Linked DNA regions of Homo sapiens: regions 1, 3, 4, 5 and 6 are each linked to region 2. Evidence: promoter capture Hi-C in 16 types of primary human blood cells and fetal thymus (Javierre and others, 2016). All regions are on one chromosome and are shown on one strand. The core of a region is centred on a gene start or on the middle of the fragment in contact, and the rest is flanking DNA. Distances in the headings are between cores, read along the strand shown.

What was found. Contacts are between HindIII fragments. The CHiCAGO score rates a contact against its expected background, and 5 or more counts as called.
Region 1: a contact is called between a fragment that was not itself captured here and the fragment with the promoter of HDAC11-AS1 in region 2, in 4 of 17 cell types (naive B cells, total B cells, fetal thymus and 1 more). The highest score is 8.0, in naive B cells.
Region 3: a contact is called between the fragment with the promoter of RAF1 here and the fragment with the promoter of HDAC11-AS1 in region 2, in 1 of 17 cell types (naive B cells). The highest score is 5.4, in naive B cells.
Region 4: a fragment that was not itself captured here is called in contact with the fragment with the promoter of HDAC11-AS1 in region 2 in 8 of 17 cell types (fetal thymus, total B cells, naive B cells and 5 more); the score reaches 6.8 in fetal thymus.
Region 5: a fragment that was not itself captured here is called in contact with the fragment with the promoter of HDAC11-AS1 in region 2 in 3 of 17 cell types (naive B cells, total B cells and neutrophils); the score reaches 8.2 in naive B cells.
Region 6: a fragment that was not itself captured here is called in contact with the fragment with the promoter of HDAC11-AS1 in region 2 in 2 of 17 cell types (neutrophils and total B cells); the score reaches 7.2 in neutrophils.

What each region holds. Positions count from the first base shown.
Region 1 is chr3:12,809,799-12,812,498 of GRCh38, forward strand. CAND2 (cullin associated and neddylation dissociated 2 (putative)) reads left to right here. Exons shown (of 15, transcript NM_001162499.2): 5 at 261-526. Among named protein-coding and RNA genes, the nearest start is that of CAND2, 14 kb to the left of the region's middle. RefSeq lists a silencer at 289-738. The HindIII fragment of the contact is 687 bases long and covers 1,084-1,770 here.
Region 2 is chr3:13,478,547-13,481,379 of GRCh38, forward strand. HDAC11-AS1 (HDAC11 antisense RNA 1) reads right to left here and starts at 1,507. Exons shown (of 2, transcript NR_046690.1): 1 at 1,097-1,507. It overlaps HDAC11 (histone deacetylase 11), which reads left to right and starts at 1,760. Exons shown (of 10, transcript NM_024827.4): 1 at 1,760-1,803; 2 at 2,700-2,833. The coding sequence starts at 1,802. RefSeq lists enhancers at 1,116-1,175, 1,825-2,481 and a silencer at 1,636-2,125. The HindIII fragment of the contact is 8,461 bases long and covers 1-2,833 here.
Region 3 is chr3:12,662,688-12,665,387 of GRCh38, forward strand. RAF1 (Raf-1 proto-oncogene, serine/threonine kinase) reads right to left here and starts at 1,430. Exons shown (of 17, transcript NM_002880.4): 1 at 1,126-1,430. RefSeq lists enhancers at 512-1,122, 1,123-1,734, 1,346-1,695, 1,736-1,805 and a silencer at 936-1,155. The HindIII fragment of the contact is 11,087 bases long and covers 80-2,700 here.
Region 4 is chr3:12,965,502-12,968,201 of GRCh38, forward strand. The region is part of intron 1 of IQSEC1 (IQ motif and Sec7 domain ArfGEF 1); the gene reads right to left. Among named protein-coding and RNA genes, the nearest start is that of LINC02022, 82 kb to the left of the region's middle. RefSeq lists silencers at 1,953-2,002, 2,113-2,532 and an enhancer at 2,683-2,700. The HindIII fragment of the contact is 2,939 bases long and covers 1-2,700 here.
Region 5 is chr3:12,874,163-12,876,922 of GRCh38, forward strand. It overlaps a transcript of LOC105376956 not described here. Among named protein-coding and RNA genes, the nearest start is that of LINC02022, 9.7 kb to the right of the region's middle. RefSeq lists a silencer at 1,869-2,108 and enhancers at 2,002-2,515, 2,516-2,760. The HindIII fragment of the contact is 2,860 bases long and covers 1-2,716 here.
Region 6 is chr3:12,833,973-12,836,672 of GRCh38, forward strand. CAND2 (cullin associated and neddylation dissociated 2 (putative)) reads left to right here. Exons shown (of 15, transcript NM_001162499.2): 15 at 1-831. The coding sequence ends at 10. It overlaps RPL32 (ribosomal protein L32), which reads right to left. Exons shown (of 4, transcript NM_000994.4): 4 at 513-2,251. The coding sequence ends at 2,122. Among named protein-coding and RNA genes, the nearest start is that of SNORA7A, 5.1 kb to the right of the region's middle. The HindIII fragment of the contact is 762 bases long and covers 1,058-1,819 here.

The DNA of each region.
Region 1 (2,700 bases), core at 177-2,676, 670 kb before region 2:
TTCCCCTATCAGGTCTTTCTCCCTAGGCTGGGAGCCAGGCTTTGCACTGCTGAGAAGTCCCTTTCTCTCTCCGCTTTCTCTCATGTAACAAAAGTAATTAAAATAATTCCTCCTCACAGTTGCAGGGCACCTCTTTTGCAAGGGCCATTGAGTTGCCATAATCCTGGGAAGGAGGCCGGGAGAGAATGGGGAGAGGGGCGGAGCCTGGCCCAGGTTGCCCGCGGAGTGCGATCGGCCTGATGCCCCCTCGTGCTCCCCAGGCTGGGTGTCCCGCTGGGCGCCTTCCACGCCAGCCTCCTGCACTGTCTGCTGCCACAGCTGAGCAGCCCGCGCCTGGCGGTGCGCAAGCGGGCGGTCGGAGCGCTTGGCCACCTGGCGGCCGCCTGCAGCACCGACCTCTTCGTCGAGCTCGCTGACCACCTACTGGACCGGCTGCCCGGCCCGCGGGTGCCCACCAGCCCGACTGCCATCCGCACCCTGATCCAATGTTTGGGCAGCGTCGGCCGCCAGGCCGGCCACCGCCTCGGTAAGGGGGCAGGGGGCGGGGCCTGGGCTGGCATGGTGGGCGGAGCTTAGGGTGAGCCAATGACTCGGTAAAGGGGCGGAGCTTGGGCCGCAGTGCAGCCAGGGCCTAAGGGTGGGCCGTCTGCCTTGGTAGGGAGGATGGGGCGGGGCCTGGGCTGATGTGGTGGGTGGGGCCTGGGGCGGGCGGCTGAAGCCCCTGAAACGCAGAGGTTGGGGCCGGATAGGGCTTGAGAGGCGCAGGGCGGGCCCTGAGCTCGACAAACCCCCAGGCCTGAGCCCCTGCTGAGTGCAGACGGTTCAGAGAAGGGGGTTGGTTCAATCACTTATGAGACGTGGAGGCTGGCTGGTAATTACAATTTTAAGTCATGCCACTAAACTGTTAGACTATGTTCTCTTCTCCCAGTTTGACAAAGATATCTTAGTAACAGCCCATGAGCCAAGTTTGAATTTTTAAGAAACAATTTAATGTGCATACAATAAACCGCACTATTTAAAGTGTGCAATTCAGTGTGTTTTGACCTTTGTGTATATCCGTGAAACCTTTCCATCACCCCCAAAAGCTTCCTTGTGTCCGTTTGCAGTCCAGCTCTCTGCCTTGTCCAGGAAGCCACTGATCTGCTTTCTGTCACTATAGATTAGTTTTTTAGAAATGGAAAGCTGCAATCAGGTTTGAATGTATCCTCAGACACCTTGGAGTTCTGACTATACCAAGACAGTTTGGATAGAACTGGCATATGGTCAGCCCCTCCCAACCCCTGGCTCTCTCACTGCAAGGGGCCTTGCAGGCACACGGCGGGGGGTGGGGGGGGGAACCCCAGCTGACATGGCCACACCCTGTCCCATTTCTCCCAAACAGCAGCCAGCCCTCAGCCATCCTTGGTTGCATGGACCTAGGAAAGAGGCCTGCGCAGGCTCGGACAAGGGGTCAGGATCCATTGGGCAGGAAACTCGGGTCCCCAGATACCCAGACAGAATGGAGTCTAGGAGTGTTGGGGGTCTCTAGGTCAGCATGTCTCTTCTTATGCTGTAGGGAAGGGTATGGCTGGAGAAGGGCTTGAGTGGAGTGCTCTAAAGCCTGGAGACCAGGCAGGAACCCCTCTTGCCTGGTCTATTAGGGCAGTACCTGCCTCCCTTTCTCCTATCCAAGGACTTAAACCTAGTGAAGGAAATTAGGCCAGGACATGAATAATGGTTTTGATAACAGATGCTATTTATCGAGTGCCTGCTCGTGTAGAACCTGGACTAAGCTTTTTTATTTATTTTTTTGAGACGGAGTCTCGCTCTGTTGCCCAGGCTGGAGTGCAATGGTGCAGTCTCGGCTCACCGCAACCTCCGCCTCCCGGATTCAAGTGATTCTCCTGTCTCAGCCTCCTGAGTAGCTGGCACTACAGGCGCACGCTACCATACCCAGCTAATTTTTGTATTTTTAGTAGAGACGGGGTTTAACTATGTTGGTTGGCCAGGTTGGTCTTGAACCCCTGACCTTGTGATCCCATGATCTGCCCGCCTCGGCCTCCCAAAGTGCTGGGATTACAGGGGTGAGCCACTGCACCCAACCTTGGACTAAGCTTTTTTAACTTCTTTTTTTTTTTTCTTTTTGAGACTGAGTCTCGTGTCTTGCTCTGTTTCCCAGGCTGGAGTGTAGTGGCACGATCTCTGCTCACTGTAACCTCCACCTCCCAGGTTCAAGCAATTCTGCCTCAGCCTCCCAAGTAGCTGGGATTACAGGGGCGCACTGCCACGTGCAGCTAATTTTTGTATTTTTAGTAGAGATGGAGTTTCACCATGTTGGCCAAGCTGGTCTCGAACTCCTGACCTCAGATGATCCATCTGCCTTGGCCTCCCAAAGTGCTGGGATTACAGGTGTGAGCCACCATGCCCGGCCTAAGCTGTTTATCTTTTTTTTTTTTTTTTTTTGGAGATAGAATCTCGCTCTGTCCCCCAGGCTGGAGTACGGTGACGCTATCTTGTCTCACTGCAACCTCCACCTCCCAGGTTCAAGCAATTCTCCTGCCTCAGCCTCCTGAATAGCTGGGACTACAGGTGTGTGCCACCGTGCCCGGCTAATTTTTTTTTTTTTTTTTTTTTTTTTGAGACGGAGTCTCGCTCTGTCGCCCAGGCCAGACTGCGGACTGCAGTGGCGCAATCTCGGCTCACTGCAAGCTCCGCTTCCCG
Region 2 (2,833 bases), core at 257-2,756:
TCCCTGAGGGGAAGTCGGTCTCTCACAAATGCCACAGGGCCACTGCATGCACTCTGTCACTTTATAAAATAGTACTTATTCCTTCTGTGGTTTACATCTGCCCACATCCCTGACCTTTGAGTGAGTTACTTCACCATTCTGTGCCTCAATTTCTTTATCTATAAAATGGGGATGACAATAGTTTGCCTCCTAGGACTGTCAGAAGAGTTCGACAAGCAAAAAGCATTTGGACTTCAACTTAGCACATGACAGATGGTCTCTGAATAATAATCAACATTATTGTCTCTTGATTCCCTGGACTTGCCCATGAAATCCAGAGAATGAAGTGCAACCAGAACTTCATTTTCTTCCTTTTTTTTTTTTTTGAGATGGAGTCTCACTCTTGTCGCCCAGGCTGGATTGCAATGGCGCGGCCTCACCGCAACCTCCCCTCCCCGGTTCAAGCGATTCTCCTGCCCCAGCCTCCCGAGTAGCTGGGATTACAGGCGCCCTTCATCACGCCCAGCTAATTTTTTGTATTTTTAGTAGAGACGGGGTTTCACCATGTTGGTCAGGATGGTCTCGAACTCCTGACCTCAGGTGATTCACCCGCCTCGGCCTCCCAAAGTGCTGGGATTACAGGCGTGAGCCACCGCACCCGGCCCAGTACTTCATTTTCAGATGCAGACATGAAGGACCAGAAGGCTGAAGCAACCTGCCCAAAGCCACTATGCTGGCGGGTGGCCGAGTTTGGGTTTAATCCAGGCCCGAACCTCAGTTCCCTCAAGATAAAGTTGGGGTGATTATGGCACCTTTCTCAGGATTAGGTTGTGAGGCTCAGATGCCATCATGCAATCATGGCAGGCACACGGGGGCCCCTCTTCAAACGTCTGTGCGCTTCCCTTGTGCCCCGCCCTGGCACACAGCCGCCCCCGCGGAGCCCAGGGATCCCAGCCCGGCAGTCCTCCGTCAGCTGCTTCTGTTTGGATGGCGGGGACGGCTGGGCCGACAGAGAGGCCCATTGTCTCCGTCCTCTGGGGCTCTATTGTTGGGGCCTCCTCCTGGGTTGCAGCCCCACGGACAACCCCAGCTGTCGCTTGGGCCTGGCTCAGCTTACCCCGGCGGTGAGGGTGCGGGTCGGGGACGGAGACGCGTGCACCCTGAAGACAGTAACTAGGCCTGCTCTACAGAGGGAAACGCAGGCTCTGAGAGCCTACATGTCTTCGCCGGGAGTGCTTGTCCCGGAGCTGCTCGCAGACTGGGCCGGGGGTGGGCTCGGGTCGGAGAGGTCACGGGGCTCCTTAGGTCACAGGCGGCAGGGCCAGAGAAACTCCCCCGCCCCTACGTTTAACTCGCGGAAACAAGGGCCCAGAGAGCCCAGACGCCAGCCCAAGGTCACACAGCGAAGCCCCGGCACAGCCCGCCGGGAACCTGTCGTTTCTAACCCCCAGCCTCTCGCCGTTTCTACCCAGCTTGGGAAGCGCAGGAACAGGACATACGGTGGTCGCGCCCCTTCCGCGAGGCCGGGGTGAAACCCGCTTGGCCCTCCCGCCAGGGGGCGGAGCTTCCGAACCAGGCGGGATTCCACCGGGTATTTGCCTGCGGAGGCGGGACTTCGGGCTTGATGGGCGTTGGGGGTGGCCTTCCTGCGGGCAGGCTCTCTGTGTCGCAACACTGGCGGGGCGGGCCAAATCGGCCAGAGCTCTGCCCCCAGAGGACGCGGCTAAGCCCGGGGGCGTGTCCTGGGCTGGCCCCACCCGCGCCCCGCCCCGCCCCGCCCGGTCGCGGAGCTGCGGCCAGCTTTGGGAGGGCCGGCCCCGGGATGTGAGTGCCGCGGGGCGAGGGCGGGGGTGGGCTCCCAGGGGTCCCGGTGGGCGGGCGCGCTAGGGCGAGGGCGGGGACGGCCGGGCGGGCGCGCCAGGTAAGGGCCCAGATTTGCTGGTGAGGGGTGAGGGACGCTCGGGACGGGTGTTTCCAGGCCCTCCCGGCGCGCCAGGCCAGCCCCGCGCCCCTGCTCGGTGGCCCGAGGGACGCGCGCCGGCCGCGGGCCTGGGCCCGGACCCGGAGCGGTCGGGCGATGTGCGCGGGTCTGACGTCTGCGCTGCCCAGCCCCCTGGCTACGCGGACGCCCCCACGGAGGCAGCCACTGGGGCGGATTTCTGTCTCTGGGTGACGACTGCCAGGGTGTGATGGGAAGGGTTAGCAGCGCAGCGGGGTCAGGGGATCCCCGCCCCCCGCCCTGGCTCAGGTTGGGTCCCGACTTGGGTTTCTGAGTGCTTACTGTGCTCAGCTCCTCAGTTGCATTCTCTGAGTCCTCACAACAGCCACACATTTTGCAGCCGAAGCCTTGTGCCACACAGCTGTGGGGGCATTTATTACGGTGCAGAGGTGATGCGCGGAGGCCTTGCAGCCAGACACACCTGAGTGCACGCCTGCTTCTCCACAGACCTGCACTGTGACCTTGGGCACACCTGGTCTGCTCTCTGAGCCTCTGGTGCGATTGTGGTGCCTACCCCCAGGGCTGCTGTGAGGACTGGATTGGAATTGGGTTCCGGGAAAGGCAGCCAGTTTAAGCAGCTGTTGTTGAGGGGCCCTTGTCTGCGGCTGAGGGGCTAGTGGTGCTGGGCAATGGCTGGTGGGTCAGTCCAGGCGGGCTCGGGAGGGAGCTGCTTTCTGCCGAGGCTGCCCCAGCTGTGCGTCTGTCTTTTTCCACACGGTAGGCTACACACAACCCAGCTGTACCAGCATGTGCCAGAGACACGCTGGCCAATCGTGTACTCGCCGCGCTACAACATCACCTTCATGGGCCTGGAGAAGCTGCATCCCTTTGATGCCGGAAAATGGGGCAAAGTGA
Region 3 (2,700 bases), core at 180-2,679, 820 kb before region 2:
CCCTGAGCTCCTCCTCACCCGATGAGCACTTACTCACAGGTGTTTCAAAACTCGACTCAGAAGTCTCCTCGAGTGTAGAAGCTTCCTCAACTCCTCCCCAAGCAAAACTAACTGTTCTAAATCCCCATAACACTTGATAAGCCAATTCTTATCACACTGCATTGTTTTCACGCCTTAGGAGCGCAGGGAGGGCAGAGTCTCTCCACTCAGCCCACAGAGGACCAGGCAAGCAGAAACGCTCAATGAACGTGCCTTGAATTCATTTTCCACTTAGATTAAGTGACCCCCTAGAACCCGTTCACATCTCAAGGATACACTAAGTTCCATTCCTTCTTCCCACCACAGAATGAATACCAGGGGCACACCCAGAGCCCTAGAACGAGAACAATGAATGAACACGGCCGCCTCGCCTCTCACGACGTCCAAACCCCTCTCTCTTGGGCATCGACTCGCTCGCAGAGCCTCAGCAGCTGCAGAGCTGAAGCGTCCCGGCGGCTCTCGCGTCACACAAAAGACAGCCCTGGCTCTTCATTCCAAAGCGTCCTGAGGCCAATCCTCTATAAGTATCCCAAACCTTTCATTAATAACCCAGAGTCCTGATACCCAAGGCTAGTCCTGATACCCAAGAAGAGGCCCCTGTGCCTTTGTGGTAGGGCACTGGCCAGTTTCCTCCTCTCTTACCCGATTCCTCACGTCGTCTCTAAAAGGGTGTCACTTGACTGAAGTACCCTGAGAAAGGGTGCAAGCCCGGGTCCCACATTCGGCGGCCCAAGAGAAAAGGAATTGGCCCATCCAAGTGACAACAGATATGGGGCAGCTCTGGGCGGATTTTCCCACTGCCAAATATGAGGAATGCGCATGGCATAAGGGTGGCGTTGGCACGTTTCCGCCAAACACAAGGAAATTTGAGTGGGATGTGGGAACTCGGCTCGCCGGCCATGACACCGGACTCCGGGGCCCCCGCCCAACGCTACCCCAGGGTGACAACGGCCTGGCCCAAGCCCTCTGCCCGGCAGCCGCGGGGCCGCTCCATCAGCGCCACCCAGGCCCGGTCGCCCTGGAAGCCGATCCCTCAGCCCCGCCGCCCGGCTCCCCCGGCATCCACGACCCGGTCCTGCCACCTACCTGAGGGAGCCAGGCCGCCCCAACGTCCTGTCGTTCGGCGGCAGCTTCTCGCCCGCTCCTCCTCCCCGCGGCGGGTGAGGGAGCGGGAGGCGGTCACATTCGGCGCGTCCCCAGCCCAGGGGACGGAGCCCCGAGCAGCCCCCGCATCGTAGCAAACGCGCTCCGCGCCTCAGGGCACGCGCCCCAAAGCCCGGCCAGCTGACCCTTTTCGGGGCCCAAAAAAGGCAGCAGAAAGCCGTTCCCGCCTCACAATCGTTTTCCTCTTACTCCCGCCATCTAAGATGGCGGCCCAAGCGCCCGCGATTAAGACTCTCGGGCGGCCCAGACGAGCGAGCCCTCGACTCGGTGCTCGTCCTCCCGACCTGCGACGCCACCGGCTCTCCGATTCTGCGCGAGCCCTACTGGCAGTCGACTTCTAACTTGGCTCGGGCATCCATCGCTCTGGCCTGAACTCAGGCCCCGCCCCCGGGGCGTGGCCTAGCGATCTGGTGGCCGCCATTTCGAAGCTGAAGAGGTTAGGCGACGCTGACTTGCTTTCAGGAGAGGCACTCGGTAATCGAGAAGAACCGGCTTTCGGCCAGCCAGGAGTGGCCAGAGGCCTAGAAGGGGAGAGGAAGGCCTGCCTGCCCAGCATTGCAAGGCCCAGCGATCACCAGACGTGCCTCAGGACACAGGGCACAGTGTCCAACTTTGACGCGTCCTCTCCGGGCACTTTAATACCAAATCACGGCTCCGCCACTTGACAGCTATGTGGACAGTCCCTGAACCTTAAACGGTCTTTTCCTTGTGTGTAAATTCCGAGTTCATTTTTCCCCCATCACATTAGCAACAAGTTAAAAAAACTGATAATATCCGGTTTGGTCCAAGGTATATTGAAACCTGTTGTGTGCCCTCGCAGCGCTATCACAGTGGAACTTGGACATGTTAAAAGTATATATCCTTCCTCCCGGCAGTTTCACTTCTAGACACTAATTCTAGAGAAATAAGTATACACATACACAAAAAGCTATGTGTGAAGATATTTAATGCCATATTATTTGCATTCTGGAGAAACACTGGGGATGAAATGAAGATTAATAGGAAACTGGTTAAGAGAACGCTGCTACACATCCAATCTGGGTTGTCATCCATCCAAGAATGAACTAGATAGTTACTGAATTTAAAAAACAACAAAAAAAGGGCCCGGCGCTTTTTTTGGGATTACTCCTGTAATCCCAGCACTTTGGAAGGCCGAGGCAGGCGGATCACCTGAGGTCGGGAGTTCGAGACCAGCCTGACCAACATGGAGAAACCCCGTCTCTACTAAAAATACAAAAATTAGCCGGGCGTGGTGGCGGGCGCCTGTAATCCCAGCTACTCAGGAGGCTGAGACAGGAGAATCGCTTGAACCCGGGAGGCAGAGGTTGCAGTGAGCCCAGATCGCACCATTACACTCCAGCCTGGGCGACAGAGCGAGACTCCGTCTCGAAAAAATAAATAAATATAAAAAAATAAAAATACCAAATTAGCTGGGCATGGTGGTGCATGCCTGTCATCCCATCTACTCGGGAGGCTAAGGCAGGAGAATTGCTTGTA
Region 4 (2,700 bases), core at 184-2,683, 510 kb before region 2:
CAAATGGGATCCACCTGCTCTGAGGCTGATGCGTGAACTATGGGCTACACCTGAGCGAGGCTTCTCAACCTCCAAGACCTCTGCCTCATGTTCTGAGACTGGGGGAGCAGCTGTTCATCACCAACCCAGACCACAGAAGGATCCAAGCAGGCTTCCCTGAAGCTGGAAGATTGAGATGAGATGCCCGGAGGGACTTCTAATGAGAAGGGATGTGGGACTGAGAAGTATGCAAGAGAGGTGGCCTGGACATGTCAACTGGAATGGTCCTAATGGAGGGGCAGAAACCCCTCCCCAGTTACTTTCAGCTCAGAGGGAGGCGGGAGGTGCAGCCAGGAGAGCACGCTAATGGTTTCTTGTTCCCCACTAGACTGCTGGTTCCATGAGGACAAAGACTCCATGTTTTGTTCACTGCTGTGTCTCTGGTGCCTAGAGCAGGGACTGGTACATAGCAGGCACTCAATAAACCACAGAGCTTTAGTACTGACAAGACTGAATGCTCAGCCTCGATTTGCTCTCCTGCAATATGAGGATGCTGGTACCACAAGGGTAAGAAGCAATTGTAATACCAGGTGGGACAGCTGATGGACTATGAGGGCCGCGGGTGTGTGTGGGATATGAATAACATGACCCCCATGTCCAGACTGCTGCCACTGATTCCAGACAGATGGTCTTGCAGCTGCAGCATGCCTGGCCTCCACCCCAGATGCAAGGAGCAATGGGGTCCTTGAGAAGCCCCCCAACCCCACTTGGAGGCTCAGGCTCAGCGCTCCAGGCCTCTGGGGTGAGGAAGGGGCAGAGGGAGACATATGCATGTTCTCAGTGCAACTGCTGGACATGCGCTGCACAATTTTTGAACTGAAAGATCAAACAGCTCCAGGTGGGCTTCCTCCAGAGGGGGCCTGACATAAGCCAAGTCAGCTTGTCAACAAATCCCCTTAGCCCCACCCCCCTGCTCCTCAGAAGGGCCTGCAGATAGCTCAGGGGGCAGCTGTGCTGGCCATCGCAGAGAGGAAATCAATATTCCCAGCACATACACACACACTCCCTTTCTCCCTTTCTCTCCATAAACACGGGCCCTTGGAAGCTCAGACAGCCGCCCACAGGCCCCTAAGTAGAAAAGGGTTGGCCCCTCTGACACACCAGACTCCATCCCTGACCACACCAGGTGCACACGCATCACCACACAAAGCCCCTCACATCCACACTCTGCCACAAACAGCAGCCACACACCCCAGTGCACCCCCAAGTGGCCCTGCCAGGGGCAGAGTACCCGACAGAAGCTGCTGACACACCTGGGACGCCTGTTTGTTCAGGGTCATCCACCCTCACACACACTTGGGGTCTTGCAGACAGGACAGACACATCAATCCAGACATAGGCCCAATGTCTGGAATAGACAGGCCTGCAAGAGGCCTTCCTGGCAGCTCCGGCCCTGCCTGCAGTTGGAAACAGGCACAGACCCGCTGGGCACCCTCCCACCAACTCTCCGCTCTCCCTCCTGCCCCTCACCTCACACCCACACCGAGTCCCACTGTTTCCCTCTCAAGCCCCCAAACTCAAACTCACCCCCACACCAACTTGCACTCCAACAGGCCCTCGATCACACACACACACTCCCATCCTGAGACCCTCCCAGGGCACACACAGCGCTCCTGTCCCAAGGGCGCGTCTCTCTCTCCCACGCACAAACTCGGGTCCTGTTTGCTCTTCTCTCACCCAAACCCACAGTCTGGCGGACGCACCCCGCCCCGCAGGCAGCTTTCTCTCGCACGCCGGGCGCCCGGTCCCGACGGTCACCCGCACTCCCGCACAGGCATCCCCACAGCCTGCGCCAGCCCACCGCTCAGCACCCGGGAAGGCCGCTCGCCCCGCGCCGCGCCCTCACCCGCTGTCAAGCTCTAGCTCCAGAAGGGACTGGGTCCTCTCCGAGTTGCAGTGCAGGCACCACATGGCGGCCGCAGTGGGAGCGGGCCGGGCCGGGAGCCGGGACCCAGGCCCAGCAGAGGCCGCCGACTCCCGCCAGCGAGCCGCCGGATCCCGGGGCCGACACCCGGCCACCCGGAGACCCGACCACCCGCCACGCGATCACGTCGGGGCTCCTGGTCCAGCGTCCGCCGGCTCCCGCGGCTCCGGCCCCAAGTCCGAGCCCCAGGCCAGCCAAGCCCGCCCCTCCGCCGCCGCCCGCTTGGCGCAGCGCGAGGCCGGGCCGGAGGAATGTGGCCCTGAAGTGGGCGGGGCAGGGCGGGGGCGGGGCCGGAGGGCGAGCTGGGGGCGGGGCCGGAGGGCGAGCTGGGGGCGGGGCTGCGCGCGGGGGCGAGACTGCACGGAGCGTGTGGGGAAGAGAGCACAGGAGGCGTGGCCACACGGCGCCGCGGAAGAAGCACAGGGGGCGGGGGGTCAGGGGCGGGGCGTCAGGGGCGGGGCTACGCGCAGGGGCGGGGCCGAGCCGAGGCGCGGGGTGCAGAGCGCAAGGGCGGAGTCCCAGACACTGCATCCAGGTCCCAGCGCGCGAAGCCTCTGTTCTGGAAGGAGGACTTTGCGCAGCCCCTCCAACACTGGCGCCTCCCGGGAGCCATGTCTTCCTCTCCAGCGTGTAACCACAACAAATGCACAGCGCCAAACCCCCAACCAGAGCCTACTCCGCTGATGCCTACTCAACATCTGCCTATCCCGATTTTGCCTTCAGTTTATAAAACCTGG
Region 5 (2,760 bases), core at 37-2,536, 600 kb before region 2:
AGCAGAAAGAATTGGGGTGTCATAGTGACAGTGGTAAGGAGAAGGCAAAGAGTTTTCCACTTCTGGCGATGGTAGCGGTGGCAGCCACCTGGCCCAGGGCACCATCTCTTTTCTCCTGTCTGTACCCTGCTTCCTCTGCCCTGCCACTTCCCCCTTCCTCCCCACTCCGCTCACTGCAGTCTTCTCTCCATCTTTCCAAGGTAGATGCAGCTTGCTGCTCTCCTGATGCCCCAACTAAGGCTATGGCTTCTGGTGCCTGCTGACCTCTTGGACTTTATTTCCCTGGCCCCTCCCCCACCTCCTTTCTGTTTGTCCCAGCCCCACGCCCAACTCCCTCTCCCCCAGCTCGTCCTTTGCCATTCATAATCCCCCCATCTTCATTCCTCTTCTAGGTTTTCTCTGGCTAAATTTTCTTTTATACACTTGCTAATATCTGTCTCCTTTTCCCTAGACTTCCTGTGCAACACGGAATGATGAAAATCTAGACACAGGAATCTCACTCCCAGCCTAGCCAGGACCCAGGTTTTGTGAAGGGGTGTGGGGCGGGAGAAAAAGCAAACCCCACCAAACCAACACCCAGTCTAGAGCCTGATCTAAGTGCCACTCAAAACACGTTTCCTCCCTTTACTTTCCTATATCCTGATAATTCTTCCTGAAAAAGGTGGCCCCTGGGAACTGTCTAAAAGCATCATGGGATGGAAGGGCAAGGGTCCTGAGAGTTGGTCTTGCCATCCCTTTGTTTCCAGTTTTCTTGAAGAAGTCGAGCTCCAGAGAAGAGGTGGGGCCTGTGGGGCATTTTGATTACACTCCAAGTCTAATTCCCAGTCCAGCAATCCTGCCCCCAGAGGCTCCCTTCATCTGTCCACTTGGCCAAGGAAGGGGCGGGTTGGCCCACGACCCCTGCCTGGCTGCAGACAACATCAGAAGGGTGTCCATGTAGTGGGGGCCCCAGAACAATGTCTGCATGGAAAGGGTCCAAGGAGCTGGAGCCCTTTAGCCTCAAGAAGAGCATGAGGCACCCAGCACCCTTCTGAAACCTAAACCAAATTCTGGCCTGAGCCATTTTCACCGTCTGTGCCCTAGAAGGTTGTGAGGCCTCGAAGTGGGTCTTCCTGTTTCCCTGTCTTCTGAGGCCCAGGCCTTTCTCAGAGCCTCCATGGGTCCCACCCCTGTACCCATCACATGGTGTCTGGGCCCTGCCTGCCTGGCTCACACCCCTCACCCTGCTGCCCTATTTCCATCCCTGAAACAGTCCACTGGACACTGCCATTCCCTCTCTTAAAATACTTTCACAGGCCCTGACCGTCCCTTGGTCAATCTAGTGAATGTCACCCCCTCAAAGAAACCCTCCCTGAGCACCCCATCCGCAGTAGGGTCACCCCCATCTTCCACCTTCACTTTTCCTGGTGTCTCCTTCCTAGCCCCTATCTCTATGGGAGTTTTCTTCAGATAGACTAGACTCCCTCGCCCACCCGGGGGGGCCAGCGGGTCTGTCTTCTCTGTCCCTGCACACCAGAGATGATCAATGATCAGTTGCTGACATCAATGAAACAGGAAGGCCCCAGAGGTGCTGGGAGCCGTTCACTGCAGGTGAGAAGGAACCTTGAGGAAGTGGAGAGGACCCGAGTTAGTGTCCTCTCCCCACCCGAAGGGTCAGCTCCTGGCAGCTCTGCGACTCTGTGGCTTGGGGCGCCTCTCCCCTGTGCCCTTGACGGGTGGCCTGCAGGGGACGCGGCCGCACTCGGTCGGCTGTGGTCCTGCAGCAGCCGCGTCCGGGCGAGCGGCACTTAGGAAAGACAAACTCCAAAACCCAGGGCTCCAAAGGACCCATGGGAAGGTCGGGAGGCTCAGGAGAGTGACCCCGCGTCTGGGCCAGCGCTTTGAGGACCCTGTGGACCCAGCGGAGAGGGCCCGGGTGAGGGCTCTGGAGGCGCTGAGCAGGGCCGGGAGCCACGGGACCCGCAGAGGGCGCCCGTCCGCGTGGGGGCAGCAGCGTCTGGAGGGAGGTGGCCCCGGCCGCCCTCAGAAATCAGGCTCAGCCCGGGGGTCCCTGGCTCCGCCTCCCAGGCCGGGCTCTCTTTGCCCAGGCTGGGCGGGGCTGATGGCCGTTGGAAGCCCCGCCCCCCGCCGCTCACCACCTTGTGGCCCCGCTTCCGTCTCCATGGAGACCCGATGCAGCTGGACAGCCTGTCAGCGGCTGCTCTGGAGCCTGGGGCCTGCTCCGTGCGCCCTGTCTGCCCTCCGCGGGCCGTGCTGTCCAGGCTGGCCCGACAGCCTGACTCGAGACACCGGGATGCCTGTCCACGCCTCCACTCCCGGGCCACTTCCCCGTGGGGCGGGCAGTGGGGCAGGGCGGGGTGGGAATCTGCTGCAACCAGGGAAGGGAATTGCCCCCCGGGCACAGAGAGTTTGGAGCCTGGGGTACTGTCACCAACAGCCCAGGACCCCGCAGCTGGGCCCTCCCCTAGAGTCTTCCTGCAGCAGGGCTCTCCTCCCGAAGGGCTGTGAATGTTCCTCGGAGGTGGGGCTAAGCTAGAGCCCAGAGGTTTGCCCTGGGCACGGATCCCCCAGGTCACTCGCCTCCCATGGGCTGCAGTGAAGGAGGCTTTGAAGGGAGGATGGCCGCCTCCTCCCCTGCAAGGATATGAGCCCCAGGGAAGGCATTCCTGCTCTGGGGATTGCCTCCCTCCCAGACATCACAGCCAGCCCTTGCAGAAGCTTGGCCAAGCTGACCACTCTGTCAGTGATCTCTGCAAGGGA
Region 6 (2,700 bases), core at 189-2,688, 640 kb before region 2:
GCTCAGCTAGTCCCCTCAGCACCAAGGTGGGCCCTCGCTTAAGAGAAAGGAGCCCACCCAAGTCCGAGGCCTCCCCATCCCACCATCGCAGGTCTCTACTTTTGCCCTTCCACCATCTCACTGGGGGCCCTGTCGCTCCTGGTCAGGGCTTACAGTGCCTTCTCCAGGGACCCAACTCAAAGGCCCCCAGCCCAAGCTGTGAGGCTGCCAACAGTTGGGCCCCTTCCTTAACTCAGGACAGTCATCCAAAGAAATAGGGTGAGGAAGTTTTCCAGTGACTTCACACTGTACCCCTCCATAGTCTGTCTGGTTCCTTCAGAGGGTGTCTCTGCCTCACAAACTAGTAGTATTTAGAAATAGGCTGTGCTGTCAGCTGTAAAAGATCAGGAGGCAGCAGACACCACTCTGGTTTCTTCACTGCATTCAGCAATGCCTGAAGTTAGTGCTCAGGCCGGGCATCTCAAAAGAAAAGATACTTGAGTTATTCACATTTTAAAATTCAAAACGGTTCATTTTTAAGTGGCAGTGATGAATCAGAAATTTGGAAGATGATACGGGTTTCTTTTTTCCAGGGAGGAGGAATGGGTTGGGTAGGGAACTGGACAGGCTTGGACCTCATGTTTCATTTCTAATTTCAAAATACTTATTAGCAAATTGGGCAACAATGGGCATCTTCCATGCCACCACCCAGGCATAACCAGTTGGTTTGTTTCCTTCTGAGGAAGGTTTCAAATGTGTCTAGTGTTCAGTATTGAGGACAAAGAAATACAAGTGGCAGGCCCAAGTATTTTCTGTGATATCCCAGGTTAATAAAGATTAGATTCTAAGTTACTTCTTTCCTCTGCACGACTCGTCTCCAATTGTTAATCGAATCGCCTGAACCCAGGAGGCAGAAGTTGCAGGGAGCCAAGATCAAGCCACTGCACTCCAGCCGGGGTGACAGAATGAGTCTCAAAAACAAAATCCCAAAAATGACCAGTTTGCATTATAAATATTTATGACTAGGTTTTGAACAGGAGACAATCTGTAAGATTCCTGTCTAGACTAGAAGTAGAAAAGCTTTATTATACCCAGCGCAGCATTTCTGCTAAGTTGACCAGGATGGTTACAGAAAAACATCCTGTAAGCATTTCTGTCTCATAAGTACCACATCCCATATCCCTCATGACCTATATACTACAGAAGATGCCTGTAATCCCAGTACTTTGGGAGGCTGAAGCAGGATTGCTTGAGCTCAGGAGTTCGGGAGCCTAGGCAACATGGCTAGACCACCTCTACAAAAAAACTTCAAAAACTACCCAGGTTTGGAGGTGTGCATCTGTAGTCCCAGCTACTTGGAAGGCTGAGGTGGGAAGATCACCTGAGCCTGGGGAGGTCAAGGCTGTAGTCAGTGTGCCACTGCACTCCCAGCCTGGGTGAGAGCAAGACCCCGTCTCCAAAAAAAATCAGGACCACGTGTCACTAAATTCTGAGTACCAGTCAAGAGGCTCAATTGTCACCAGTTAGGTCCCCGCCTTGGCAAACTGCTGTAACATTATACCTGAAGCAGCAGCTGGTGGGAGGGTTATAGGAGACTGAAAGTGCTTTTCCAGTTAACCGTGGTGGATTACCTGGAAGAGCAATTTGTACATCATCCTGTTCTTTTTGGACAGAAGTTACAGGATGCAATTTAGGCATCCCGTAAGAATCTGTGTAAGAAATTCATCTGGATATTTCCATGCATATTTTCTCAATTCTCACAAGCATCACATGGAATAACTTGTCACCTAACTTTACAAAAGCAAGGCTAAGAATGACTACTTGTGGCTTGGGAGCCACAAGCTTCTTCAAGTGTCTCAGAACCTACCTGGTGTGAGGGCCAAGTCTGTACCCCTCATACCCAGCCTCAACTGGAGATGACTAAGGCTAGTCTGTGCACTTGAGGCCACATTCCCCTGTTCAAGGACTGAGTGTCCTTTACAAATCCCCTCCAAATGGGAGATTCCAAAGGGGCTTAAGCAAAAGAACAATCTCTGTGGCAAACTAAGTTGGCCAAGAAGCTGAAGACTTAAAATCAAGGAAGGAAGATGCCAGATGGCAGTTTTTACATTTATTTAAACAGAAAACGTGCACATGAGCTGCCTACTCATTTTCTTCACTGCGCAGCCTGGCATTGGGGTTGGTGACTCTGATGGCCAGTTGGGCAGCTCTTTCCACGATGGCTTTGCGGTTCTTGGAGGAAACATTGTGAGCGATCTCGGCACAGTAAGATCTGCAAGAGAATCAAGTAGGTAAGGAGCAAGACAGCCCTCAACACACTTGGAAAATTCCATTGGAGAGGCAATGAGTCCCAGCACCAAGCTAAGAGAGGGCTGCTTGGTAAGTGGCTGTGGAATGACACCTACATGCCCCCAAATCCTGACTATGGTTCCCTGGTGGTGACAAGAATGCTTTCATTAAAAAGTACCCTCATTGTCCCCTCTCATCCTTATAGCAGCCTTGTAATCCAGGCATTACCTCCATTTTACAGATAAAGAAACCAAGGCCCACAGCAAGCAATGGACAGGGATCCGGGGCGAACCCAGGCCCACACTCCAGGTTCAAAGGTTCTCCCCCAGTCACAGGGTGCTTGACCTTGCCCATGAAGGTTCAGAACTCTTTGCAAAATGGTCAAGAGCAGAACCCAAGAGTCTGAATGGAGCCAAGAGCACCTGGTTTGAC